Regions from separate parts of the Homo sapiens genome. Here region 1 is linked to region 2. The links are contacts of gene promoters, found by promoter capture Hi-C in human tissues and cell types (Jung and others, 2019). All regions are on one chromosome and are shown on one strand. Each heading gives the region's core, a stretch centred on a gene start or on the middle of the fragment in contact. The rest is flanking DNA. Distances are from core to core; before and after follow the strand shown. Region 1 has its middle 79 kb from the start of LINC02967. Region 2 holds the start of NANP (N-acetylneuraminic acid phosphatase).

What was found. Contacts are between HindIII fragments. The study calls those that stand out against the background at their distance.
Region 1: a fragment that was not itself captured here is called in contact with the fragment with the promoter of NANP in region 2 in 1 of the 25 tissues and cell types used here (lymphoblastoid cells).

Annotation. Positions count from the first base shown.
Region 1 is chr20:24,837,226-24,842,515 of GRCh38, reverse strand. No RefSeq gene overlaps it. Among named protein-coding and RNA genes, the nearest start is that of LINC02967, 79 kb to the left of the region's middle. The HindIII fragment of the contact is 4,719 bases long and covers 1,147-5,290 here.
Region 2 is chr20:25,621,031-25,625,896 of GRCh38, reverse strand. NANP (N-acetylneuraminic acid phosphatase) reads left to right here and starts at 1,883. Exons shown (of 2, transcript NM_152667.3): 1 at 1,883-2,038. The coding sequence starts at 1,949. It overlaps ZNF337-AS1 (ZNF337 antisense RNA 1), which reads right to left and starts at 1,852. Exons shown (of 4, transcript NR_126465.1): 1 at 1,762-1,852. RefSeq lists enhancers at 1,794-1,963, 1,935-2,610 and a silencer at 2,134-2,193. The HindIII fragment of the contact is 13,881 bases long and covers 1-4,866 here.

The sequences.
Region 1 (5,290 bases), core at 2,257-4,756, 790 kb after region 2:
ATTCAAACAAGGAGGGACCCCTCCCTGCATGGGAAGGAGGAGCAGAGGCCCTGTCACGCACCGGGCAACCAGGGAAGGCGAGGCTGAACTCCCAGCTCTGTCCCTCCTGACTTTACACTGTAACTGCCCGGTGGGTTCACCTTGTCTGCTGCCTAGACAGAGCTGATTTATCAAGACAGGGGAATTGCAATAAAGAGTAATTCACACAGAACCGGCTACATGGGAGACAGGAGTTTTATGGTTACTCAAATCAGTCTCCCTGAGCATTTGGGGATCAGAGGTTTTAAGGACACCTTGGTGAGTATGAGGAAGCCAGTGGCCAGGAGTGCTGACTGGTTAGGTAGGAGATGAAATCATAGGGAATTGAAGCTGTCCTCTTGCGCTGAGTCAGTTCCTGGGTGGGGGCCACAAGATCAGATGCCCAGATGGGCATCTTTTTTCTTTCTTTTTTTTATAAGTAAACCCTACTCATTTATTCAAAATTAGCCAATATCAGTGATAGCTCTGTTAATTTACAGAATACAGTTACATGTACACACAGTCTTTTCATTTATAAATTTAAAAATATTTATAGTATGCAAGGTATTACCTTAGGCATAGTAGAAAACTTAAGGTTGAAAAAATGTTTCACTTGTCAAGCACATCAGCATCAAGTTCAGGAAGTAAAATATGTCATAACATAGCATATAAGTTAACAGTAAAGGTTTATGATTATTTGGAAGAGAATAAAGAGAAGAGTTCCTAGGAGGGGTTGCCATGATCTCTTTTCTAATGACCATCCTTCCTCCTCATTTGTCAATTGATGCAAGTTAATGCCCAATCACAAGAATGGTTCCCAAGGATGAGTTGATTAATGCTTATATATATAATATGTATATATATATTTTAGAAAACACAATTTTAACTTCTAAATTCAGGTGGTATGTGTGCAGGTTTGTTACTGGGAATCGTACATGATCCTGAGGTTTGGGGTATGATTGATTCCATCACCCAGGTACTGAGCATAGTATCCAAAAGCTAGTTTTTCAATTCTTGCTCCCCTAATTCCCTCCCTCCTCTATCAGTCCCCAGTGTTTATTGTTGCCATCTTTATGTTCATGAGTACCCAATGTTTAGCTCCCATTTATAAGTGGGAACGTGCGGTATTTGTTTTCTGTTCCTGCACTAATTCGCTTGGGATAATGGCCTCTAGCTGCATCCCTGTTGCTGCAAAGGACATAATTTTGTTCATTTTTATGGCTGTGTAGTATTCTATGAGGTATATGTATCACATTTTATTTATTAAATTCACCATTGACTGTCATCTGGGTGGATTCCATGTCTTTGCTATTGTGAATAGTGCTGGGATGAACATGTGAATACATTTGTCTTTTTGGTAGAATGATTTGTTTTCTTTTGGATATATACTCAGTAATGGGATTGCTGAGTTGAATAGTAGCTGAGTTTCATGTTCTTTGAGAAATCTCCAAACTGCTCTTCACAGGGCCTGAACAAATTTACATTCCCACCGACAGCATATAGGCACTCCCCTTTCTCCACAGCCTCACCAGCATCTTTTGATTTTTGACTTTTTAATAATAGCCATTCTCACTGGTGTGAGATGGTATCTCACTGTGGTTTTAATTTATTAATTCTTGTATTTTGATTCTTGGAGAAAATAAACAATAGGCACAAAAATTTAGGTAGCTGGAACTTTAATATTAATAAAAACAGGGATCCTCCATCCCCCACTAAGCCAACCCAAACTGACAAACACACTTGCTTTTAAACAAAACCAGCAGGACAATTTCTCCAGCAGAGGCTCATTTTTGCCTCTCCCCGCTAGACTCATGCAAGATCCTGACAATGCAGAGGGCTTCATGTACTCCAGGAAGCACTGGGGCCAGGCAGCATTAGACGATTGGGATCACTTCTGAGTTGGCGAGTGGCTCGCCTTGGGTTCCTGTGGCTGCACCGTGTGTGATTTCAAAAGAGAAAATCAACAAGTGTTTCTGTGGTCCCAGGAACCAGGGCTGAGTGCCTAACAAACAGGGTTTTATTATTAACTTTTGATTCTGCACGTATGTTTCAGATCATCTCATTCAAACAAGACTGGTGAGAGACACATTTCCAAAGAAAAAGAGGAATGTGTCTGGGGTGAGGATAGAATGATAGATGGGGAGGCTATGGATGGAGTCAGACATGCCCAGAGTTTATGTGGCAGAAAGAAACCACTGCGAAGATCATCTGGCTCAGGCATTTCCTACATGTTCCCTGGGTCCTAATATTTTACAGGAGTGCCGAAGGAGAGGCCAAGGATAATTGGCTGGGGTGGGTCTGGGAAGAGTTTGCACTGGAAGAGTTTGCACTGGGCCCCAAGCATGTCCCAACTAGAGCATTCACTGCAGGCAGTTTACATAGGAAATATTCCTGTTTTATGATTTCTAGGTCTATTACAACAGATAAGCTATGTTGACATTTATATGTGCTGGGGTTTAACTGAAAACAGTTTTCTATTAAATACCTTGGAGCTCATTGAATCTTCTCACTTAACAGCTCAGGAACAGGGGCAAAAAGAGGCTCAGCCAGATCACTGTGGGTTCTCCAGGGAGTTGATAACCTGGGCCTCATCAACACCAGTCCAGGCTTTTCTCTACTAAACCAATTATTTGATTGAAACATGGTCAGTTCCCTTGAAGTGGGAGGTCAGACCCCTGTACTGGCTGCAGGATGACCTGCAAGAGTGGCATGAGTGGGCGCTGAGTCTGGTCCCCCTGGGCCCTGGGCTTAGCCATGTTATGTGGCCCAGTGCTGGGTCTCTCAAGACTCTTCCTGACTACAGAGTTTTGTCTTTTTCCTAAACTTCCCCTAAATCAAATTCTGCTTTATATCTCTCTTTTTTAACTTTTTGCCTTTATTTATCCCCAACTCTTGAAATAATTGCTCTGCTTTTTCCACGTGGTCCTAAAGCTGGCACCATCACCATCAGTGCGCTGTATACATTGCTCTGGTCAGGAATATGGTCGATATGCTTGTTAGACATTTTTGCTGTGGGAGATGGCATCCTAATTGAAGCCAGTGAAATAAAACACAGGTTTTATTATAAGAATCCTGGAATGTATTACAGAACCCAAGTGTGAGAATGTGGCTAGGCTTCAACTAAATGAGTCAAAACTGGAAACAGAAACGGAAATGCCATTGGCTCTCTTTCTCTCTGTGTGTCTTCTCATTCTATTTTAATGTTGGCTCTGTTCTTCTGCCTCACCGAAGCCAGTTTTCTCCATGTGGCAGGAAACTTGTCCACTGAATGCTGCACATGTTACCTCTTGTGGCTTCAGTCTCCCAAAGAACCCGACAATGTCTGGGGCAGGGCTGTTGGCCCACCATGGGCCTGCGCACACACGCACATGCACACACCATGGATGGAGGGGTGGGTTGGTGGTACAGGGAAAGTTTCAGGGGAGGCCAGTGCGGGGAACATACAACTAGATAGCCATCTTGTAAGGCCATCCAGGGTTCTCCACCTTGGCTCCTGGATGTCCTCACACACAGAATCACAGAAAAGAATATGTCAAAGAGGCATTCTAAAACCTCCAGTGGCTAAAGGTCCCAGGTAGGGCCCATCCACCTCACCAGGGCTCAGGCAGATGGTTGGCAATGGGGCGGTGGCTGTGGATGAAAAGATGGGGCATTACCCAAGGCAGTGCTCTTGTGCAGAGCCTGGCTTCTTCAGGAAGATGACAGGAGTCCATGTGACTGTGGATGAAAACATGGGGCATATCCCAAGGGAGTGCCCTTGTGCAGGGCCAGCCTTCTTCAGGAAGACAACCAGAGTCCATGTGGTGTGAATCACCCTTTACCTCCTTCTGGAATCCAGGAGAGGAGACATTCTAGGAGGTTCCCAGCACAGAGATATCTCCCTTAGCTGTGTTTGTGTGTTTACTGGGATGCTACACAGAGAGATGCTTCCTTGCCCATTGGAAAGGCTGCCAACATTGATGTTCTTCCTTTGTGATATTTTTGCGACTGCTGTGCAAAAATAAAATACCATTTTTTCAATGATTCTAAGACATACACATTTAAAAAAACACATCTTAACTTCTCCAAGATTGGAGTACATTGCAGAATTCATGGCATGTCACAGCTCTCCTGCCAGAGGATTTCTGTTGTTCGCAGTATATAAAGTAGTGGTGTTATATCAACAGCGTCTTAAATTCAATGAAGTGTGATAGTTGCAGAGGCAGATTTCCTTGAAAACAATGACAGCGAGTCATGGTAGAATGCACCAACCTGTCAACCTTAGATCATGAGATTCAGAAATCATGATTAAGTGCTGAGTTCATTTGAGCAGGAAGCTTAGGGTTAGCCACCTGGGAAACACAGACTCCAAAGGAACAGGGTCAAGGCTCCACAAGTTGGGAGTTAGGGCTTCACTTACACAGACAGAGACAGAGAAGTTTAGGGGATTCCAGCATCTTCCATGCAAGGCCTGTACATATGTTGCAGTGATTTGATCGGTGGCAGCTTGCTACATTCTAAGGAATATTGCTTTAGCATTCCATGAGCAGGGTTGACCATCTGAGGGGTCTTAGTTCTGGCGCCACAAGGTCTTTCTGAATCACTTACAGGAAGAAGCCAGAGCTACAGCTGCGTGCTGCGTGACTCAGGCCACAAAGCCACATTCCTGTCAGGGATCAGAATAATCTAAAGTTCCAACAACTTTAGGTTTTAATTATTTAATTTCATAAACCTGATGGATAAGCAAAGGAAAGTCTCATCTTCGTGGCAGCAAGGGTGGGTTTTATGGCTGAGCCAAATGGGCTTCTGAGCTGTAGGAGAATCTGCCTACAGAGGGAACACACGCTTGTCTCTGGGAACCTTAACATCAGGAAATAAGGGAGCTTTAAACAGCAGGTGGGCTACGTGTGAAGAGGAGTTGTTTTCTGTTGTTTTACTAAATACTGGAATCAGTTTTAAATCAGTTTAAAAAGGCGACTGTGTAGTTCCATTTTAAAGTGACTTCTAAAGGGAAGGCAGGTCCCCATTGTCTGGGATGAGATGAGAAACTTCTGCCTAGCAATAGGAGGTAGATTAGTTGACCCTCAATCAGAGTGACTTGGGTGCAAATTAACTAAAAATGTTCATTCAAATTGGCTTAAATGGGAAAATAATTTATTATCTAACATGAAAAGAAGCCAGTAGTCCAGATTCCAGAAATCCTCATTAAACTGTTGACTTTCCTCTTGCTTTTCCCAGTTAGTCCTAATTAAACTATCTTAATTTTTCTTAAGGTAAAACAAAAGAAAAGCCA
Region 2 (4,866 bases), core at 634-3,133:
AAAAAAAGCTGCTCCAATCCTATAAGCTTCCTGTGCCTATAGTTTTATGCTAAATTGATTCTGACATTTCAGGCAATTAAAAGTAACTCCAATTAATTCACCATAATTTTGGCTGATTGCTAATCTAAATGTCCACAATTGATAGGCTAGCCCTATACGTCAATGAGGTAAGCACAGAAAGGAGTCATGGTTTTGAGGAATGCCTATGGGTTTATTCTCCACCATAGCAATGAGATGTCAACTGTGATTGTGCTCCATAAAATATAGAAACTGTAGGTAGTCTAACGCTGCAGAAGAAACTCCTATTAATATAAAGATAAACCAATTAATCTAACCTACTGAACATCAGTGGTCTGTTAAGGAGTTCCACCAGCGAGGTGAGAGACTGGCAATTTTTTTCTCTAAAGAGCTAAATAATGAATATTTTAGGATTTCCAGCCACGTGGTCTCGCTTACAATTACTCAACTCTGTCTGCTTCTGTATGGCAACAGCAGCCACAGACGATACAGAAATGAATGTGTGCGCTGTGTTCTAATGCAACTATGGGCACTAAAATTTCTTGATTTTCATGTGTAACAAAACACTGTTATTTTGATTTTTTAAATCCATTTACAAATGTAAAAATCACCCTTAGCCAGGCGCGGTGGCTCACGCCTGTAATCCCAGCTCTTTGGGAGGCCAAGACGGGTGGATCACGAAGTCAGGAGTTCGAGAACCAGCCTGGCCAACATGGTGAAACTCCGTCTCTACTAAAAATACAAAAATTAGCCGGGGGGTGGTGGCATGCGCCTGTAATCCCAGCTACTCAGGAGGCTGAAGCCGGAGAATTGCTTGAACCCGGGAGGCGGAGGTTGCAGTGAGCCAAGATCGTGCCACTACACGCCAGACTGGGTGACAGAGCAAGACTCCATCTCGAAAATAAAAATAAAAATAAATTAAAAAATAAAAAAAACCACTTAGCTCACTGGCTAAACAAAATCAGGTAATTGGCCTGTACCTGACAGTCAATTTCTGGTCACTAATGATGACCACATATCCAAATTACAGTAAAGGTACCCAAGAGAGACAAAGATTAGAGATTAGTGTTACGATCCCCGTTCTGCCAGCACTAGGAGACAAGAGTTGCTACAGCCCTTCCGCGGGTTTAAAAGGCGGTCGACGTCCCTCAACCTCTTGCTATGCCTGAAAACAACCGAGTAAAAGGCATCCAAAGACCTGAGAACGCAAGGTTTCAGGAAAACAATCAGGAAGGGCAAAACATGGGGCAGCCACTACACAGCCCCTCCGTCTTAGGGCACAGGTACTAAACGGGTTGTAAGAGACCCAAGTCACATCCTTCAGAAACGTGCTGGCGCGGGCCCAGGCAGACAGGGATTCCACCCCGGCGAAGGCCGCAAATGGCGCGAGGCGGGAAGGCGCAGGCTCCACCTTCCCCCGTCCCCAGATCACCTACAGTGACCTGCGCGTACAGGCAGGCTAGGACCGCGGGCGCTCAAGGCAGACATCAGGCCCGCCGACGTCTCCGCGCCGCCCGCCCGGCCACCCGGAGAGCCTGCTGCCCAGCGCCTGGCAGCGCGGACAACCTCTCTCGGGGAGGTGATGACGGTCCCTCGCGCCGGAGGGCCCAGGGAGGAAAGAGATAAGCAGAAAGACACCAGGGAAGAACACCACGCTTCGGACCAACGCCAGCCACAGCCACTGAGAAGTCGCCGCATCCGGCGGCGCCGACACACGTTTCCAGGGCTCTTGAGAGACCATACCCTGGGAGTCTCGCGGGATCTCACTTTTCTCGGCGGCGCAGGGAATGAGACAGATCGCGGGAATTCCACCCGCGCCGGGAGATGGTCTGGTGACTTCGCGGCTCCTCCCACGTCTCTCTGGGCAGTCCGCCTTGCGCATGCGCAGGCGGCGGTGGCAAGGCTACGGTTCGCGCCAGCGGCCGGCGCTATGGGGCTGAGCCGCGTGCGGGCGGTTTTCTTTGACTTGGACAACACTCTCATCGACACGGCCGGGGCGAGCAGGAGAGGCATGTTGGAGGTAACGTCCCCACCCATGGCGCTCCTCTGGGCGGGGTCAGTGCGCCCCGCCCCGTCCTGCACGCTCACCTCCCCTTGACCCCACTTCCACCCCGGCGCCGCGGGCCGCTCTTGCTGGTTGAAACCTGTGGAGCGTGCGGGTGCGGAGGTGGCTGGAGGCGCGCGGGCCCTGCGGGTCTGCTTTCCCTGGCCTGGCGGCCGCTTGTCACCCAATCTCGAGCCCTGGAGCGGCTGCTCGCAGGTGCCTTGGCGCTCGGGACGCGGAAGGGCTCCGTGACGGCTGCCACGGTGGCGGAGGTGCCCGTGGGCGCGGGAGGCGACAGCAAAGCCGCGAGACCAGGCGCTGGTCCCGCCCCCGGTCAGACTGTCGGTGTGGAGCTCGACAGAGGGTCGTGTCCCCCATGCGACTTTCGGGGTTGCTGGGAGGAGACATGGTAGAGTTAGCCCCAGTGTTGACCCAAGAAGGGACACGGCTGTCAGTACCGAGCCTGGACTTAAGCCCTGCTTTAGAGAATTGTCGCCGCAGAACTTCTTCTGGCCTCCCTGGCGGGGTGGTGGTCACCGTGGCTTTCTGACACGTGACACAGCAAAAGCCCGTGCTGCGAGGGCATGCCCTTCCTGAGGCGCTCCTCCGCGGCACTGCCCCTCTACACGCGCGGAGGCGCTTTCAGACCTTCCCGTGTTCCAGCCCCAGTCCACCCCGGCTTCCCTTTCTCTACCTTCAGCTTCAAGGGGAAAGGGAAGGATTTATCAGATGTGGAAAACTCACTTTCAAAAGCTAATTCATCCAAACCTGAGCGCCCCGTCCTCTTCATGCTTCATCAGTTAGTTTTTGTGTCCCTGGATCTTCCACTACCTCATCCGTTTTCTTTTTAGCTGCATTCCACTCCTGCCGCATATTCATGTTTGCCCTATAGTTTTAAAAAAGCTGTAAAAAGGATGCCTCCCTTTGGGCTATTCTTCCTGCTGTAGATGTTGCCTGTCTCTCTTGACAGCCATGTTTTCCCGGAGAAATCTATACCCGTTATCTCCTTGTCTCTACCTCCTATTTATTACTAAATCCATCGTAATGTCGCTTTATCTTCACCGCTAGACTGAAATAGACTTGCTGGATCACTAGGCATTCCCAAAATGCCGGAATCAGTAGACATTTTTAAAGTCTGTCTTCATGACTTTACTGAGGCATTCCACACTTTTAACTTGTTGGCCTCCACCTCAGGGGTGCCACCCTGTGCCATATTGCCTCCAGTATCTCTCGCTGCAGATGTTACATATTTACCTGTGTGTTATTAGTAAGCTGAGTCCTGTGCATTTCAATTAAATTATTGCTTTAGGCCAATTCTTGCTGTAGGCCCAGAGTTTGGGCTTTAAAATCAGACATTTGAATATGAATCACAGCTCTCCCAAAACCTAGCTGAAAGTGCCTCAAGGAATTAACCACTCGGAGCCTTATATCTTCATAAAATGTGAATTATATTAGTCCTCAATAACCCTGTAATACTTGGGAAGCCCATGGTTGCAGTGTCCACTCAGCGAACTATAGCACCTTCCACCCTCGTACGCTGTCTGTCCACCACTGCACATGCCCCGTGCATGTCTCAGTTACAGCTGAACTCATCTCTCACCTAGACTGTTGCTGTGGGCTTGTCTCCAGGTTTACCACATCCAGTGTGTCCTCCACATTCTTGCCACAGCAATATTTTTAAAACAAAGACTAAATCGTATGCCTCCCTGGTCTTTACACCCTCACTTATAGTAGTGCTGTATTTTGTTCAGATATTTCTTAATGCATCTGTCAAAGGATATTTCAATTAATTTTGCAACTCAGGTGCCTACTACTAAATAGTGAGCTTCTTGGGAGGGAACAAGCTGTCTTAATTATCCTCGTTTGACACATGGCAAATGTTGAATAAATGCTGGATGGATGGATACAAATTTTTACTTCGAGACTTGGTTCTATTACTGCCTCCTTTATAATTACAAATCATTGTAAATAATTTATGAATGGGCCGGGCGCGGTGGCTCACGCCTGTAATCCCAGTACTTTGGGAGACCGAGATGGGCAGATCACGAGGTCAGCAGATGGAGACCATCCTGGCTAACACGGTGAAACCCCGTCTCTACTAAAAATACAAAAATTAGCCGGGTGTGTTGGCGGGCGCCTGTAGTCCCAGCTACTGGGGAGGCTGAGCCAGGAGAATGGCGTGAACCCGGGAGGCGGAGCTTGCAGTGAGCCGAGATCGCGCCACTGCACTCCAGCCTGGGCGACAGAGCCAGACTCCGTCTCAAAAAATAATAATAATTTATGAATGGAGGAAGAGGGAAAGGTCCAGCCATTTATGGCCTTGGGCTTGGGGAGAAGAGGTCATATACTGACTGTATGTATCAACTTTAATTTTTTCTAATCACCTAGGGAAGTTATTTTTTTTCTCCCTCTTTAGACCTGTTTTTCATGGTAATTACTCAAGAGGAACTTTTCTACAGAAGCCTGGAGTTTCTCAGTGAACAAAGCAGAAGAGATTTCTGCATTTGTGAATTTACTTCTTAGTGGGTATGGCAGTGAACATAATAAATATTTACAGGTGTGATAGAAAAAGCAGAGAGGGTAACAAATCAACATTTTAAATAGACTGGTCAGATTTGGCCTCATCGAGTAGGTGATGTTTGTGCACAGACTTGAAATAAAAATAACAGAAGCGCTGCTTGAATTGCTAGGCTGAGTGCAGGCCTCATTTTGTGAGCGTGTTTTAAAATTGTTAATAGTTTTATTTGGAATTCATCCCCTTCTGTCGTGCTGGATCCCTATTGATTTCAGTAGGGATAGCACCA